Linked DNA regions of Homo sapiens: region 1 is linked to region 2. Evidence: promoter capture Hi-C in 16 types of primary human blood cells and fetal thymus (Javierre and others, 2016). All regions are on one chromosome and are shown on one strand. The core of a region is centred on a gene start or on the middle of the fragment in contact, and the rest is flanking DNA. Distances in the headings are between cores, read along the strand shown.

The links. The method cuts DNA at HindIII sites, captures the fragments that hold promoters and counts their contacts. A CHiCAGO score of 5 or more calls a contact.
Region 1: a contact is called between a fragment that was not itself captured here and the fragment with the promoter of FTX in region 2, in 1 of 17 cell types (monocytes). The highest score is 5.1, in monocytes.

Annotation. Positions count from the first base shown.
Region 1 is chrX:74,447,965-74,451,337 of GRCh38, reverse strand. All of the region lies in intron 1 of SLC16A2 (solute carrier family 16 member 2), which reads right to left. Among named protein-coding and RNA genes, the nearest start is that of SLC16A2, 28 kb to the right of the region's middle. The HindIII fragment of the contact is 1,111 bases long and covers 1,451-2,561 here.
Region 2 is chrX:74,291,882-74,295,737 of GRCh38, reverse strand. FTX (FTX transcript, XIST regulator) reads left to right here and starts at 2,164. Exons shown (of 7, transcript NR_028379.1): 1 at 2,164-2,386. It overlaps LOC124905199 (a long non-coding RNA gene), which reads left to right and starts at 3,142. Exons shown (of 2, transcript XR_007068266.1): 1 at 3,142-3,856. RefSeq lists an enhancer at 2,910-3,700. The HindIII fragment of the contact is 8,135 bases long and covers 1-3,069 here.

The DNA.
Region 1 (3,373 bases), core at 757-3,256, 160 kb before region 2:
TATTAAACACATGCTTTAGGCTTCATACATTCTTTGTCTGATAAATATGCTTTGCCTTTCCTCAAACAGCACTTCCCCTCTGAAATTCACCACATACTCACATAGTCATTGCCCAATCCCAGCTTCAGCCTGACTCATCACACTAAAAGAACACATACGAAACAAACCACCTTTCTACTGGTTACATATTTTGAATCAGAGAATAAAAGATTTCCAATATTGGAGGTCTCTTAAATGTCATTTTAAGTTTTTTTAAAAAGTGTTTAAAGTTCATGTGTTTTACCCACAGATCCCCATGGAAACCCAATTCAGAGAGACAAAAAGGGAAAGGCCCACTAAGAGAGACTCTACCTTTTCTGGTTTTCTGCCTAGTTCCCTTTAATCCCAGGCAGGTTGGTCTGTGTATATTTTTATGGCTGCATAAGACTTTTAAAATCAAGACCTATGTGCTTATAACAGTGGACAAGAATTTTGTTCTGCAATGACCAGGACTCCCAGATCTCCAACAGCTTACTGACTCCAACCACTACCAGAGCCAAGGGGATATTGTCTGGTCAACATACTTCTCATGGGACATCAAAGACAAGGCAGAGGAGGCAAGGAGCGGAGGACCTTGAATGTTGTGCCTTTGTGTCATAGGAGTGAGACCTAATCAGCAATCCCCATTGGCATAATGGGAAGCAGTGGCTTCTCTGATATTGGCTTGGTCCAAAACCCCAAGTTATATTCTTTTCCCTATCAGCATGATCCCAATACTATCTGATGACTAGATGGAAGTTTCTTTTACTTCTTTGGGTGGGGCGGGGCAGAGCAGGGGTGGTGGCGGCAAGTGGTATTTGGTACAAGAGTACGGATCACAGAATTATGAACTCCCAGAAATGGAAGACCCCTAAAAGATCACTGAGTTCAGTGCAAAATTCTACAGAGGAAGAGACTTAGACCCAAAGAGAGGAACATGCTCAAGGTCACAAGATGGATTAGTGGCTGATCCAGGTCTCCTGACTCAGCTAGCATTATTTCCTTTAGCTTTTAGGTATGTTTAGTCTTCATCTGTTCGGCCATTATTCATTCAACAAATATTTATTGAGCATCTATTATGTGCCAGCCAGCCCTTGTGCTAGGCCCTGGGGCATATAATGGGGGTGGAGGGTCCATAATTTCTCAATAGAAAGGGCTTAGGGAAAGCAATTTGGTTGGAAGGAGGTGACTAAAGGACTTGCCTTGATGCTTGCTAGCATAGCAAGTGCATGAGTTTTGCTTAAATTATCTATTTATTAGTCATGGCTTTGAGCGATGCTAAAATTCCCCAAGCTAGCCTTGTTGCTGTCACTAGTGGTGGAGGAAGGATGGACCATCCTGGTCGTCTATAGTGCCCTGTTGCAAGACAAAGATCATCCCATTATCCATAGGGGATTTTGAGGGAGGTGGGAGGGAAGAAGTGAAGGAAGCTTGTTGATGGGAGAAGGGTTAGGCAGAGGAGAAATTCCCAGAGTAAAACAGCTGCCAAACTTAAAAGAGTTCCTCACAACCAGGATGAATCAAGGCCTTTACAGTTAGAGAAACCACAGCCTGTTGGCACTGAGCCAGTGCCAGCAGGTAACCTACTTAGAGGGGTGTGTGGCTAAAGGAGTCAATGCACTGAGAAGTCGCACAGATGCTGCAGAGCTGAACAAGAGAGGACCAGGGAGGAGACCCTGAAAAACAGAGTTAGTTACATTGTCAGGCACCCACATCCAGTGGGAAAAGCAGTCTTCAATTGCATCTGACTGCCTTTGAGAAGTTGACATAACCAGAGTACAGTGGATCCAGGCTGTGTTGAGATGTTATCAGCACAAAGCCAACACAGCAGGGTGCAAATATATTATGCAAGTTACTTTGGAGGTTATATCTTGAGCCTTTGGGGCTAACAACATATGTTTTCCAAGAGTGGACTCAAGATATGCGATGAATGAAGGCAGGGAATGAGCATCACTCATTAGATACCCACCCCTGACCCTCCAGCTTGGCTCTTAAATTAGCATCACTCAATTAGAACAGAAAGGTTGTGAGTCCAAGCTACTCATTGCACAGGTGCAGAAATGGAGGCTTAGAGGAGTAAGGGCCTAGTCCACAGTCACACAGCAAATGAACATGACAGTGGTAAGGTTAGAACCCAGGTCTAATGACAGTCTGTGCTTCATTCATACTTCCCTCCCCAGTTTGGCACGAGCTCATCTTAACGCACAAAAATGCAAACTACTGAATGGTTAGTCCTGCCTTGCCTTCCACAGCCATCTTTTTATTCTACTTCCTATCCTGGCTCCAAGAACAGAAGACCAAGGCCCCAGACAGCCCTGCACAATTGGGCAGGGTGAAACACAGTGCTATGAGAGTGATAAGCACAGCTAAAGATGCGGGCATGAAGGAACAACTCTCAGGGGCTGTCTCAATGCTGGGTAACTGACATTTGAGGCATTTTTCAAAGCATGTCATTATCGCTGCACGTAAGGCTGCTGTCAGTGATAGTAATGGGAATGACGCCCAAATTCCCCTGAGATCAACACTCAGCCCCAGCCCAAGCTTCAGGTAACCTGGTGCCACTGGACATTCCAGCTCCCTCGGCACAAGAACTGGCCTCCATATTTCACATACTTCAAACTTTGCAGCCTGCCTTGCTTTTTGAAGGAAGGGGGACACCAACTCCTGCCCCAACCCATGGTCCCTGGAAACAGAGGCATAGGGTCTAAGAATGTATACCTGCCTAGTAAGTTGGGAGCCTAGCTTTAAGGATCAAGCTCAAGGACTTGGAGACCTCAGAGATGGATCTGACATGGTCCTACCATCAAAGTACTCACAGTTCTAGAGACATGGAAGGACAAGTAATTGATCAGAAAGGGTGAGAGAACATAATATTAGGTGTTCTATGCAAAGAGGAGATGATGAGAAGCAAGGCAGACATGCTCTGCCCTTACTTTCCCATCTGGCCACTTTGCTGTAGGCTCCTGCCCCTCTGAGCCTGGTTTCCTCATCCAAAAAAAAAAAAAAAAAAAAAAAAATCCAAAGGATTCAACCAGACAAATAGTTCCCAAACCTGTCCTATTATGAGAATCACCTGATAAGATTGTTTAAAATACAGACTTTGGGGCCTTACCTCAGAAATTCTGATTCAGTAGGTTTCATGAGCCCCAGGGAAGGTATATGTTCAACATACTCCTTACATGATTTTGATAGTCAGCTAGGGTTGGGAACCGTTGGGATGGATGACTGCTGAGAACTTTCTAGCCCTGTATGGCAGGTTTGGACCAAGTACTTTATCATAACAATGTCACTGTCACTGTCCAAAAGGTTTTTTTGTGTTTTTGTTTGCTTGTTTGAGACAGAGTCTCACTCTGTC
Region 2 (3,856 bases), core at 915-3,414:
GGGATTACAGGCATGAGCCACCACGCCCAGCCAAAACATTATATATTTGAACAAAAATCATAAGAGAACACAAAGATGCTTGCTATGGTTTGAATATGTCTCTCAAAGTTCATATGTTGGAAATTTGATGCCCCATGTGGTGGTGTTGGGAGGTGAGGCTTAAAGGGAGGTGTTTGAGTCATGGGGGCACCACTCTTATGAATAGCTTAATGCTATTATTGAGGGAGTGGGTTTGTTATTTCAGTAGTGGGTTCCTTATTAAAGGATGAGTTCTGGCCCCCTCTTGCGCGCACTCTCTCTTTCTCTATCTCTTTGCCCTTCCACCATGGGATGATGTAGCAGGAAAGCCACTGTCAGATGCCAGCTCCTCAGTCTTGGACTTCCCATTCTCCAGAACTGTGAGGAAATAAATTTCTGTTCTTTATAAATTGCCGAGTCTGCAGTATTTTGTTACAGTGGTACATAATGGACTAAGACAATACTAATGGGTATGAAGTTTCTTTTTGGGGTGATGAAAATATTCTAAAATTGATTGTAGTGGTGGCTGCATAATTCTGTGAATATACTAAAATCCATTGCATTGTACACTTTAAGTTGGTTAACTGTATGATATGTAAATTATATATTAATAAAACCATTAAAACAGAAAAATAACAGAGATAAGAGCATTTGTTAAAATAGTGTTGTAGAATTTGGGGTAAAATTTCTTATATTTTAACTTTTGTGTAATAATAAATGATTATTTTAATTTAGAAGAGGTTCTTTGTACCACTGAGATTTCGGCATTTCTTTTTTATTTAATGCATGCCTATTTCTCTTTTTTCTTCTTCATATGCACATTGTTGTATAATTTTTTGGGCGTATTATATAACAAATGCAAACCCATTTTTCTCTGAATAATGTTGATATAACATTCTTAAGTTAATTTGAGAGGATGGTGATGTATAAGTTTATGAGTTTTAGGATTTATGAATTTGCGGGTCTCAGTTTTTGGTATTTCCAAACTGGCTCTTTTAGAAAGCAATAAGAACCAGACACCAAAGTAAAACATAATAAAGAGAAACAAAATATTATTTTGTATTCTTTCTAGTTCACACCCAAAGAGGGATCTATTTCAGAGCCTCTTAAGTAAATAATGCCATTTCCCTCAAAATTAATATTTGAGTTCTTACAGAAGACAAGAACAGGCCTTGTAGTAAGCAGTGAAGGACATTGAATCTCATTTTTAATGTCCAGACAATACCAGGGTTGTGAATAGAAAGAAAAGAGCTTTCCATGTTGGTGGTCTACTGCCTCTTACCCCCAAATTGATTGAACACTTTTGCAGTTTTTGTTCTGGTTCCCTGTCTCTGGATCTTCCCTGTGGGTCATCATCAAAAAGGTGTTCTCTTTGCCCAAGACAGGCTGGTTGAGCTCACCCTGAGAGCTGCTTTGGAGAGGATGTGTGGAAATATTTTTTTTCTTTTTTTGAGATGGGGTCTCACTCTGTTGCCCAGGCTGGCAACATCATAGCTGGCACAATCATAGCTCACTGTAGCCTCGACTTCCTGGGCTCGAGTGATTCTTCCACCTCAGCCTTCTGAATAGCTGGGAGTACAGGTGCGCACCACCACGCCCGGCTAATTTTTGTATTTATTTGTAGAGACGGGGTTTCGCCATGTCACCCGAGCTGGTCTCGAACTCCTGAACTCAAGGGTTCCGTCCACCTCGGCCTCCCAAAGTGCTGGGATTACAGGTGTGAGCCACCGCGCCCGGGCTACAATTATTTAAAAAAAAATTTTTGCGGTAATTTTTACAAATTTCAACATCAGGCATAGGAGGAGAGGAGTAAGAGGCCCAAGAGGGCTGCAGACTGGCAGGGAAAGTGAAGAATTGAAGGGTAGACCACTAACGATAGCAGAGGAAATAAAGGTAGATGGTGGGCTAAGAATAATGGGAGAGGGATTGACGAAAGAAGTATGGGCTGAGGGAGGGATGATGGTGGAGGCCAGTGTGACCGAGGGGAGGGGAAAGGTGGAAGAAGCAGAGTGGGATAGCGTCCTGGGAAAGAAGTGAAGGAGGTCGGTGGACCGCTAAGGGTTAGACTCCTAGAGGCTGGAGAGCGGCGCGTGGGGGAGGCGGGGCGCGGAGGGGGGGTTAAGGGGCGTTAGCAGCGCATGCGCTGGAAGCACACTGCGGCGATTCTGGAGAGGTTGTCCTTTTCTGGCATCAGCGTTGCGGCTCGAGGCAAAGCTGGTCCTGTGCCTGCTGTCCATTGCCGCTAAGGCCTGCTGCTGCCATTCAGGCGTGTCTCTCTCTCTCTCTCTCTTTCATGCCGCTCTCTCCACCCCATCTTGGGACGGCCAGCTCTAAGAATTCCTGCTACGACACTGAATTCAACCAGGAGGTAAAGGAACGATGTAGGGGAAGAACAGAACATGGAGGGCGGCGGAGGGAACTTGGGCCAGGAAGATCCTTAATTTGTGCATTTTTCCAGTTCACGGGAGGAAAAAATGGAATACGTTACAGGCCCCAGTTTTCCAAAAGGATGTTGAGCATTTGCTTCCCATTGTGAAAGGAATGCGGGTTCCTTTCCTCTAACTAGAGTCAAGGCACCTGAGCATCGGTGTTTTCCATAATGTTCCCTGTTTAAAACATTTGTGGTTCGTCATTTGTAGCAGATGTATTTAAAGGGCGAGGCCTTAGGATTATGTTCATCCGATGGTTTGTGAAAGTTTTCCTTGCCTTTGTTCAGGTTGACCGGTCTTATGTGAATCCTGGGGTACTCTAGCCCCCTCCCTTGGAGTTGGGACCGATTCCATCTAGATCTGGGATTCACTCTGATCACCTGCAACGCCTTCTTTCCCCGATTCAACTTCCCTAGTTTATCGCATCTACTCGCATTAGGGAAGGCTGGTAATGGCTCTCCTTGGGCACTGGGGCAGAATTGTGGCGAGAAACACGTCCAGATAGCATCAGGCATGCATACTGTATACAAATGGGAGCAAGAAGAGAGAGGACTATCGCGGTGCGCAGGGTATTTGAGAGGCTGGATGAGGAGGCGCGGCGCCGAGGGGCGGCGCTCAAGCTTACAGTATTTGAGAAGACCTGAGTTAAGGGGACGGGCTCCAGTGGGGCGGGGGTGGGGAGAGGGAGGCACGCATGCGCAAGGCTTGAATGGCGTCGGGGTTGGAGGGTTGGAAGGTCGGGAAGTGAAGGACTCGCAGGCATATTTAACAACGCAAAGTTGCTAGGAGTTGGTACCAGCGTTTGGGAGGTAGAGGTGGCGCTCATGCATATTTGAGACAACATCTGGATGGTTGGGGAGAACGGTAAGGAGGAAGCGGCGCGCATGCGTATTTCAGACGGAGTGCCGGGGAGGGGAGGCGCTCAGCATTCGGGTAATTAAGGTTGCAAAATGGCGAGGGGGGAGGTAAGCTGTCTTTGCTTGGCCATCTTGGGCTAGCAGGCCTTGCAGAGAACTACCTTTTTAGCTGAGTGAAGGGATCAACCTGAGTTGGAGTTCTCCTATGCTGTGGCCAGATCCACTAGAAATTAACCCAGAATCTTAGCCTCTCAGTGGCCTATCGGTAAGTGGGTACAAAAATGAGGAGGCGATGATGACTCTGCAAAAGGTTGCGGCAGCTGGCGGTGCGTAGGAAATGCGTAAAAAGGGAGCACTTGGAGACAGGCCACATTTGGGCAGTACGCATTCGGAGGGCTCTCTGGCTTTCCGATCTTGGGTCGCTGTACTTGGCTCTGAATACAGTCACCCCATCAGAGTAGCAAAACACTGTGGTTGTAGTGTGAGAATCCAATGTTAATGTTGGCCGAAAGCTCTTGATTTTCTTCCCTGAGAACATAGGCGTGAGGATTT